Regions from separate parts of the Homo sapiens genome. Here regions 2 and 3 are each linked to region 1. The links are contacts of gene promoters, found by promoter capture Hi-C in blood cells and fetal thymus (Javierre and others, 2016). All regions are on one chromosome and are shown on one strand. The core of a region is centred on a gene start or on the middle of the fragment in contact, and the rest is flanking DNA. Distances in the headings are between cores, read along the strand shown. Region 1 holds the start of CD2 (CD2 molecule). Region 2 overlaps PTGFRN (prostaglandin F2 receptor inhibitor). Region 3 overlaps PTGFRN (prostaglandin F2 receptor inhibitor).

Region 1 (3,481 bases), core at 344-2,843:
GAAGGTGGGGTCCCTGCTTCTGGTGATATTTTCTGTGTGAAGCACAGAAATGCTTATTTGCTCACTGAATGGCTGGCCTGTGCTCATGCTGGGGTTCCTGTCTGCCTCCCCAAGTCAAGCGCAGCTTCTTCTTTTCCCTTCTTGTCACTACTTCCCCAGCATCCCCCCGGGCTTTCAACTTCAATGGCATTTCGATTCCACTTTCTCTACCTTCTCTCCCTTGCCTAAGCCACCTTTCTCTATGCCTGACCCTTATTATCCTCATTCTTCCTATTTTAGAGGCACCCTTTGGTCTAGGCCAGTGGCGATTGACTTTGGCAGCTCATTAGAATCCCCCAGGGAGCTTTAGAACCTAATGATACCCAGGCCGCATGCAAAAAAAATCTGATTTAATTGGTCCTCACTCCACTTGGATTACAGCAGCAGCTTTCTAACTAGTCTCCCTAACCCCATCCTCAATATCCACTCCTGTCCTCCCAGTACAGGCAGAGATATACAAAGCCACACCTTGTGCATCTTCTACACATATCAGCAAAAATCACCTGCCACCTTGTATCACTCTGACAAGCAGATCCAAAATAAGGGCTGTTCATCCTTAAATATGTTGTTTCCAGCCCTTTTCTGCCATATAACTCCTCCTTCAGGGCAGCCTGGCTTGAAATGGGCTCTGTCGATGAAAGGCCCGCTGCTCTCCAGTCAGCCTCTTCTTCTCGCCCCACTCTTAGCTCGCCGATTCATCAGCAACCTGGAACAGTTGCCTTTTCCCTCGGCCTACCTGTGTCCCCCTCCCGATTAATGCCACCTTAATCCAGGTTCTTCACCCAACCCCACATTCCTGTAACCACCTGAAGACAGAGTTGTAGGCAGGTAGACTTGAGGGTCTATCAGATGTGTGGATCCCATTCCCGCATTGGACCACAGTCTCCACTGGGGCAGGAGACATGCATCTGGTTTCCTGTATAGCCCCCCTGGAGGCAGAGGTCAGCGCTGGGGAATATTAGAAATGCTATTTTCCAACTTGCCAAATAGCACCCACACTGAAATAAAGCAATTAAGGGAATGAACACTTACCTTGAATCTTCAAATCAAATATTTTTTCCAACACATTTTTTCCTTTTGTATCATATATTGATACCTTGTAGATATCCTGATCATCGGTCTTCAGATGCTTAATTTTCAGAGTTCCATTTTTAAATAGCTTATATGTATCTTTTTCCTTGAAAGTCTCTTTCTCTTTTCTGAATTGTGCAATCTTTTTCTTGTCTGAAGTTTTTTCCCATTTTATATCGTCAATATCATCACTCATTTGAAAACTAGGAATGTCCAAGTTGATGTCCTGACCCAAGGCACCCCAGGTTTCCAAGGCATTCGTAATCTCTTTGGAGACTGCACCTATAAAAAGCAAAAGAGTTACTGAGAGTCACTTTCAGGGAAAGCTGGGTTGGGACTTCTTTGACTCTTATGCTTACCTTTGGAAGAAACATTGAAAATCAGAAGGAAGCTGGCTACAAATTTACATGGAAAGCTCATCTTAGGGGTTGGTTTCCTCTTTTGATTCTGAGCTCTTCATGCAAAAGGAACTGAAGTGAGACTGGTGGAGTCCACACCCCGAGAGCTTAACCACGTGCCTCTCTTTACATCTTTTACAGTAACATAAAACATAATACACATACACAGAGAGCAAGAGCGCGCACAAGCCAGCCCTTCTGATGTGCTCCTTTGCCAAAGCAGATGTGTTTATGAGTGTGTGTTTTCTTGCTGCATTTTAATTCTCACACAAAAAAATTGGGAAGGATAGGTTTTCTCATCTCAGTGAAAGAGAAAAGGAACAGAGAGGCTAAGTAGATCACTAAGGATCACTCTTTTGTAAACAAGAAGCCAAATTCAACCACACAGCCTTTTATCCACTTAGGTATACTGTCCCTAACAAGACCACATAGAAATATAGGTAAATGTTCACAAGCCAATAGCAGAATGCAAACATTTATCCCATATGATTATATTGAAAAATGTAGACCCATAAAATGATGAGGAAATTGATTTTTTTGTTTCTCCAAAGATATTTTTCATGTTCTAAAATCGTTTTTGTGGTGAAAAGAAAGAAATTGAATATCAGCTGTAAATGCTTGCAATCCCCAAATCCTATGTTCGGCATACATTTTACAACTCTAGTGAAATTCACAGTTAGATAAATAAAAACTTATTCCAAAACAAAGAAGCATAGAGACTATGAAATATAATTAAACTACCAAAACAAAGGAGTCAAAAGCATTTAAAGTGATTAACATTATAGGTGGTTAAGAAAAAGGAGAGATTAGGAGAAAAAATAAATGAGAGGGAACAGGGAGAGAAAAAAAGAACAGAAATTTGTGACACAAGGAAACAGACAGTGATGCAGAGACGGGTGTGCCCTGAAAAGATGCCTAAAAAGAGAAATAACCATGACAGACTTCCAAAGCACATTTTCAGGGTTATAATTCTTTAGGTCACAGTGAGTAAAAATTGCAAAAGTGGTGCTCGTTTTCTTTTTCAACTTTAAGTACAAATATGGATATTATCTGTCAGAAAGTTGCCAAGGAAATGAAATTAAGTCAAAGCAGTTGTTTGCTGTTACTGGGTAAAAGAAAGCCAAATATTTACCTCATGGTTGTATGAGCGTCATCCACAATAATGAACTACAGTTGGATTAAAGTTTTAAATGCAAAAATACTATAATAATGCTAAAAGGAGGCCGGGGGTGGTGGATCACAGCTATAATCCCAGCACTCTGGGAGGTCGAGGCGGACCTCCTCACCTGAGGTCAGGAGTTCAAGACCAGCCTGGCCAACATGGTGAAACCCATCTCTACTAAAAATACAAAAATTAGCCAGGTGTGGTGATGTGCGCCTGTAATCCCAGCTACTCAGGAGGCTGAGGCAGGCAAATTGCTTGAATCTGGGAAGCGGAGGTTGCAGTGAGCCAGGATTGTGCCACTGCACTCCAGCCTGGGGAGCAGAGTGAGACTCTGTCTCAAAATAAATAACTAAATAAATAAAATAATAACAATAATGCTAAAAGGACAATATAGAAAGATATTCCTATAGTTTGAGTATGGAAGGCCTGGCTACATATAACATATAATCCAAAGTAAGAAAGAAAAGATGAACACAACTGATGATATAAAGAAGTAAGATTTACATGCAGATGAAGAAATAAGGAACAAAATGAAAAGGCGTGACAAAATATTTGCAATATATATAAAATTATTAATATTCAAAATATTCTTACCAATAATTCTTACCAATCAATACAAAGTAGTTTTTAAAATGGGCAAATGATATAAATGATCAGCTTGCAGAAGAAATATTTCGCAGAAGAAATATCAAACCTACAAGAGGAGTCTAATGTGACCAAAAATATATGTATATATCTTAGCTATAAAATACCATTTTTCACCATCAGATTGGTAAAATTAGAAAAGATGATAATTTACATTATTAAC
Region 2 (3,481 bases), core at 318-2,817, 200 kb before region 1:
TATTTTCACATTGAACATTTAATGCATATAAGGTCCTTAGTCCAGTGCCTGGCACACAGTAGATGCTCAATAAATGGTAATTATTCATTTTAATCTGTCAAGTGGCAAAACTGAGTTTTGCATTTTACCTGTGTAGCAAACCAACTCTCTCGAAAACTTTTCTGTGACAACATTCCAGAGTTACATGACCTAAGACCACCTATATCAACAGAGTGCTTGTCAGGTTGTCTGTCTATCTTTTTTGGTCACTTCTCGGTTACCTTATATTGGTCCCAAGTTGTATGTGGTATGGTATCCGTACGCATATACATGCACATTACATATCTAGAGACAACCATGGAGTGTCAGGCCAGGCTCACTGGCTTCTGGACAGAGTCCAGCGGGGAAGTCTTTGAGAAGGGTCTGCTGCTATGCTCATGCCCTACCCGCTCCTGACAAGTGTCCAAGCAGCTGTAATGGTCTGAGTCATAGGCACAGGGAAGGAGGAGAAGTCTTAAGAGGAAGAAAAAAAAAAGAATGCAATTGTTTTTCATACTACTCGCTCTTTCGTTAGGTTTACTCAGGGGCAAATATCTCTGAATATCCTAGGAGTTGAACATTACTGCTTTCTTAGCAATTCTAGCTTTCCTATGCACATATTTTAACAAAATCCATGTGTGGGTACTGGTTTATTTACCCGTTCAGCTAATATTTATTGAGTGCTTATTACATGCAAAGCAGCAGGGAAGGTGCAGGTTCTGTATCTGTTAGCATCAGTCAGGAAAAGCACACTGATGACTTTCACAATGGTAGTAGCACTCCAAAGGAAAACAAATGACGGGATCCTTTGGATAGTAACTGAGCCTTTTCCACAATTTAGTCTCTTTATTTCTTTTCACTCTCTGGAGAACACAGCTACCAACAAATCCCTTCCAGTTAAAGGAGCCCATTCCTCCTAGAGCTCCGCTCCTGTTGTCTGACAGTCCCTGCATCTCCCCCCGGGTATGCCGGGATCAATGCACACGTACTTCAAAGAAGCCTCAAATTGGAGTGCAAGCAGCACTTTCAATTAAAAAAAAAAAAGTCCTCGAGTTGGGATTCAGAAGCTGAAGGGGGAGCGGGTACGGAGAGCCAGTGCTGGGATTTGACAGCACCATACAATACACTAAGGATCAGAGCTGTGAGACAAATTCAGCTCCAGAGATGAAAAATCTTCTTTTGGTGCTGACAACATCTGTTTTATTTTGAAGGTTGCTAAGGAGAGTTCTAGCTGGGCCAACATTGTTCCAGTTCAGTACTTCATAGTGACTCTCTTGCATGGGGTTCAGACGGCAGGAATAAAAAGCTTGCCAGATAAACCCCGCTTCTTTTACTTTTCAGATATCAAAGGATTACTTTGCTAACAGGGCTGATGAACACCCTGCCTCGTCTCCATCGGAATCGGATTGTCCCTTCCGCTTACTCTCATTGCTCTTCTTCTCCCTGCCCCCTCTGTCTCCACTGGCCAACTCCCCATCTTTGCCAAATAAAGGCTTACTGGGGAGGAAAAAAAAAAGGAGAGCGAATATGCCACTAACCCAAGAGAAGATTTCCATGCAGAGATAAGGAATAGATAAGTATGAGTTGGAGGTCATAGCAGAAGAATCAGACAAAGGAGGAAATGGTTTCCTGGCCTTTAAAGATCTGTTTTGCCTGCTAATAATCAGAGCAATGCCAAATGCCTTTATCAGGGCTCAGGCACTCACGGACAGTAGAGAGATCAAAACAGGGGGGAATGTGATGAAAGGCCTGTCCCATCTCTGTAATAATGGAGGTGGGGAGCGAAGCTTTCCACACCCAGCTTGACCCCATCCCTCCTTTGATTACTTGCAATTACAAGACATAACAAAAATTAGGAAAAGTTAGTGTACATTTTGCCCAGAGGGCAAACATTTAGGGAAAAAAGAGGTAGGGGAAAAGGAGCTTAGTATAAAGTAAGAGGACATGCCAAAGATCTCCACATATACGGCAGGTTGTTATAAAATGGGTGGCAAGGTGCTCAACACTTGAGAGCTACTCTGCTCCTCCACTGGGGAAATTACACCTGGGGTGAGAGCGTCCACAAAACAAGCCTATAGAAGCAGGCGGGCCCTTTAGTTGTAAGTGGTATATACAGATATATTGTGGGATTCCAGGGCGTGACGTGAAAAAAAAAATGCTTTCTAATAACTGAAGGAATTATCTTTCTGCATTGGGCTTTGGAAAAGCACCAGCTCCTGCCAGGGAGCACCTAGGAGTCTAAGAGAAACAAAGGAAGAATGGCAGTGTTCTCCCTCCAACAAAGATTCATTTCAAAGAGCCATTCAGCAGTGCCCTGACCCTGCAAATGTCGACAACAAAAGGAAACTATATACTCTCAAATGAGGGTATTGAGACAACTGAGGCCACATTATCTAAACATTTCCCTTGTCTGCCAGATTCTATTTCATCCCCAGCTTGGGATCTATCTGGGCCAAAGTATGCATGAACCAATAGAAATAATGTCGAAGTCATGCAAAGCGCAGAGCCTCCTGAGATAACTCCTTCAGATAACTCCGAGGAGGGGTTAAGCTGAAGAGGTTAAGAGTCATTCTCCAAACCACTCACCTAGCCAGGTCACACCCACACCAGCTGGGGAAGACACGGCCTCTGCCACTTTGTGCCAGCTCCTGTTGTGTCCGGGTGCCCACAGGGACACGTGGCAGTAATAGTAGCCAGAGTTTTCTTTGCTAACATCCCGAACCAGTAAATGGTAGGAGCGTGCATCCACATGACTCAAAGCAACATGAGGCGAGCTGTGCACCAGGGAATCACGGTCAAGCCGCGCCAACACGCGGGAGCCAGGTAGGGTGCTGTCAGGCATCCTGCTGAAGGACCACGTCACCTCGGGCCGGACGTCATCGGCTCGGTCTGTTGTGATGTTACAGGTCAGGTCCAGTTCCTTTCCTTCAGCCACAGACACATTCTTGGGCACAGCTGCTCGCAGAACTTGAAAATTAAAAACAAATACATCTAGGTAATCTGATTATGTTTGCCCCTTCTATTCTCCACCCTCTTTAAAGCATCTCCTTTTAAGTTCTTATTTACAGCATTAAAGTTAGAAGGCTTTGTACAGTTGTAAGTGCTTGAGAAATATTTAATGAATAAATTAACAGAACATACCACATTTCTTCTTATTTTATAAAAACAACAATAGCCGCAAACATTTACATATATCTGCTATATATGCCAGGCAGTGTTCTGAGTGCTTTACATATAATAATCCTCAAAACAACCCTAAGAGGCCTAATTTTACTGATGAGGAAATTGAAGCACAGAGAAGTTAAGTAACTTGCCCAAGGTCACACAGCTGATAGGTGGCAGAGATGGAATCCAAATCCAGGCTATCTGCCTTTAGAAACTCTGCTCTTCACTGTTATGCTATCTTTTGATAAGCAGTCTATTGAAGACTGTAAAACTAAAATTATACATTCTCCATGTGCAT
Region 3 (3,481 bases), core at 425-2,924, 170 kb before region 1:
CACGGGGGACACAGGCAGGTAGTGGTGAAGACAGGGTGACTAAAACAGTGTATCAAGAGCAGACTGGAGAGGAGACATGGAGGCCCAGAGATCATTCAGGGACCCTCTATCAATGGTGGGGAGAGGTAATAATAATGAAAACAAGGGCAATGACAGGAATCAAAAGGCAGCAGCTCTGAGAGCCACAACAGAGGAAGGGTCAACTGGTAGACCTGTGAGGGGAGACAGAAGCCAAAGGGAAGCTAATCACTGGTGAAATCTATTTTCTTATAGTAAGATTTTGACCAGTAGAAATGTCCACCGGACAGTTGGAATGGAAACCCCTAGAAGATATTTGAGCCTAACATCAATGTGGAGTCACATGCACGGAGGGAGTGGGGGGTAAAAAGGAAATCTGCCCAGCAGTGAAGACGTGGGAGTCGATGACACCATCGGGAGACAGATTACTGTATAGAAAAGAGGGAATGGGACAAAACCACAGCAAAGTCCTATGTTTAAGGCATGAGCAGAAGAAAAAGAGTCAGCACAGAAAAAAGAAATAGTAACCAGTTAGGAAGAAAACCAGGAAAGGCTTATGCCCTAGCAGCCAAGGGATGCAAGAATTTCAAGAAAGGGTTTGAAGTAACACTTACTGTTTCTTTATGAACATTACTCATCTACTTGCTCCTGGCAGACTGCAAGCTCCTTTAAAGCAGGAGCTGTTTCCTACCCATATCTGCATCCTGCACAATATCTAAAGCAGACTCCTACTATATGCCTTTGTTTGAAAAAAATGAACAACAATGTCAAACATGCAGAAAAGTCAAGGAAGGTGGGTGCTGAGAAAAGAGAAATGAACTGATGGCTAAGTAATCACTGGCAACCTCCAGGAAAGCGCATTTTCAATGACGGGTATGGGATCTGGAAAGTAAGAGCCAGGAGAGAAGGAACAAAGATGTAGGGAAGAGAAGGCACAACCATGAAAAAGGCACTGAAGCAGCAAGCAGGGGGTTCATCCTGCAAAGTCAGCCAGTCAGTCCCCCAAAGCACCTTCTAGGCACTGGGGACACATGGCCACCAGTCCCTGCCTGCAAGAAAACTGTGTTCTAGGAAAGAGACAGTGATGAAGTAGACCCACTGACAAATGCTATTCAGTTAAAATATGACAATATGAAGTGTGGTCAGGAAAGGCCTCTCTGAGAGGGTCATGTCTGAGTTTAGACCAGAATGACGAAGAGACAGTGATTGAAGCTCTGGGGCAAAACTGCTCCAGACACAGAACAGCAAATATAAAAGCACTGTGATGGAGCAAGCTTGGGTGTTTAAAGTACAGAAAAAAAAGATCACTGTGACTGATCACAATGAATGAGGGGGCAGGGGCCCTGGATTCTGGTTGAAATGGGAAGCACATCAACGAGAAAACGATAGAGCCTACTTTCTTTGTAGAAATTTCAGTCTGACTGCTGTGGGAAAGACAGATTATATGGGGCCAATTTGGAAGCAAGGACACCAGCATGGGGGAAGTTTCTGTAGACCAAGCAAAAGCTGATGAACACCGGCCTTGGTTGACAGTGGTGGTGACTCTCAGGAGTAGTCAGATTCAGGACTTAACTTGTGTATGAATGAAAAGACAAACTGACTTTTTGAATGTGGGGAATGAAGAAGAGAGCAATCAAGAATGATCTAGGCTTCTGGCTTGAGCATCTGGCATACAGGGTGATGCCACTTACTGAGACAGCAAAGTAATTAGAGGGAAGCAAATCTGTACCAAGGAAAGCAAGAGTTGTCTTCTGGTCATTTTAAATGTGAGGTCCCTATCAGACACCAAGTGGAAGTGCAGTGGAGTAGGCAGCTGGATGTTTAAGTCTGGAGCTCAGTGGGGAGGTCCAAGCTGGAGATACTCACTAGAGAGTCATCAGCACACACAGAGTATTTAAAGCCACAGGTTGCCTGGGGTCACTTGGGGAAAGAATACACATAGAGAGGAAAAAGAGCCAAAGATAGAGCCCTTACTTTTTTTCAGGTTAGACAGAGAAAAGGAGTAAAAATATTAAAAAGTTTTGAGGCAAAAGCTTGAGGTTTCTTTGGTCTCTATTGTCTCAGTAAAATAGTAGAAAGGAGTTCAGATGCTAAAGATCCTGACAAAGGTTTAGAATAAGCATCAGAAGAAATATAATAGGAAACCATCACAAAAGGAACACAAAGGAGAGCTGAGCTGCGGTAAAGATGCCAGGACTTTGCTGGAATCTCAGATGGGCAGACTTTGAGATTTTCCCCAGCAAGATAATAAAGTTCAGGCTTACAAACTACGATTGGTGTGAATTACTGAAATGTAATACAATGTGAGGTCTGGCAAAGAAATATGACAGAGGGTCCCAGGTTGTTAACAAGCTCACTGCTGAAATGCTGACCACCAGAGTCTACCCTGGATTCAGAGCCAAGTAAAGTGAGAATGGCCTGATGGACTGAAAAGGAAGAATGTTCAAAATCAGGGAATCACAATTAGGATGAAGAATAGGTTCAACAGATAGGAGGGAATCTGAAAGGAGTAAAGCAAGGAGGTTGTGGTCACAGAGGGAAATATCAGAATTGACAATCAAAAAGGTGAAAGAATACTAAGTGATGACAAGGCCCAGGTGTGGCCATTAAATCTCACAAAGTCTGTTATTTTTTCCAGGGGCTAAAATTATCATAGCAGGCACTCTCTGAGTCCTCGTTAGCCTGTGCCTGGCTACAGAAACACGAGGAAGGGGCAGTGTGACCAACAGGCCACAGGGGGTAAGAAGGGTGGTCCAGAGACTTAAATCTTGTTTCTAATTGACATTTACATGGCAGTTCTGGCTCTAATGTTATCTATCCTGCCATTTATATCTGGAAATCTTCTTTCAGCCTTCATACGCATGTTCTCCAAATCAAACAAGATTAGAAAGGAGGCGACAAAGACTTTGCATTTCATCAGTACTGACAGGCTCTTCAAAGTCAATGCAACTTTTCTTAGTTTTTGCTGCCAAGACAACCATTACCTCCTGCATCACACCTGTAATCCCAGCACTTTGGAAGGCTGAAGTGGGAAGATGGCTTGAAGCCAATAGTGCAAGACCAGCCTGGGCAACATAGATCTCGTCTCTATAAAAAAAAAAAAAATTTAATTAGCTGGGCATGGTGGCATGTGCCTATGGTCCTAGCTATTTGGGAGGCTGAGGCAGGAAGATGGCTTGAGCCTGGGAAGCAAAGGTTGCAGTGAGTCATGATTGCACCACTGCACTCCAGCCTGGGCAACAGGGAACAGGTCGAGACCCTGTATCAAAAAAAAAAAAAAAAAAAGGTAAGCAAGGCAGAAAGACATACAGTGCCACCAACAAGTGAGGAACAAAAATGCACGGTACTTCTTCAAGACTGGATCATTAACTAACTGAATTCCTTCTTACTAGTAAAGCACTAGATCATATAACTATGACATTGCTTCCAGTTTTGTGGCCTTTGAGAGATCCTGGGAGGCCAG

The links. The method cuts DNA at HindIII sites, captures the fragments that hold promoters and counts their contacts. A CHiCAGO score of 5 or more calls a contact.
Region 2: a contact is called between a fragment that was not itself captured here and the fragment with the promoter of CD2 in region 1, in 1 of 17 cell types (total CD4 T cells). The highest score is 5.4, in total CD4 T cells.
Region 3: a contact is called between a fragment that was not itself captured here and the fragment with the promoter of CD2 in region 1, in 6 of 17 cell types (naive CD4 T cells, total CD4 T cells, M0 macrophages and 3 more). The highest score is 8.1, in naive CD4 T cells.

Annotation. Positions count from the first base shown.
Region 1 is chr1:116,752,542-116,756,022 of GRCh38, reverse strand. CD2 (CD2 molecule) reads right to left here and starts at 1,593. Exons shown (of 5, transcript NM_001767.5): 1 at 1,470-1,593; 2 at 1,072-1,392. The coding sequence starts at 1,530. RefSeq lists promoters at 1,476-1,918, 1,476-3,481, cis regulatory regions at 2,977-3,006, 3,344-3,481 and a silencer at 2,840-3,343. The HindIII fragment of the contact is 7,255 bases long and covers 1-3,481 here.
Region 2 is chr1:116,948,696-116,952,176 of GRCh38, reverse strand. It overlaps PTGFRN (prostaglandin F2 receptor inhibitor), which reads right to left. Exons shown (of 9, transcript NM_020440.4): 4 at 2,605-2,985. Among named protein-coding and RNA genes, the nearest start is that of PTGFRN, 41 kb to the right of the region's middle. The HindIII fragment of the contact is 481 bases long and covers 1,327-1,807 here.
Region 3 is chr1:116,927,348-116,930,828 of GRCh38, reverse strand. The region is part of intron 1 of PTGFRN (prostaglandin F2 receptor inhibitor); the gene reads right to left. Among named protein-coding and RNA genes, the nearest start is that of PTGFRN, 19 kb to the right of the region's middle. The HindIII fragment of the contact is 759 bases long and covers 1,295-2,053 here.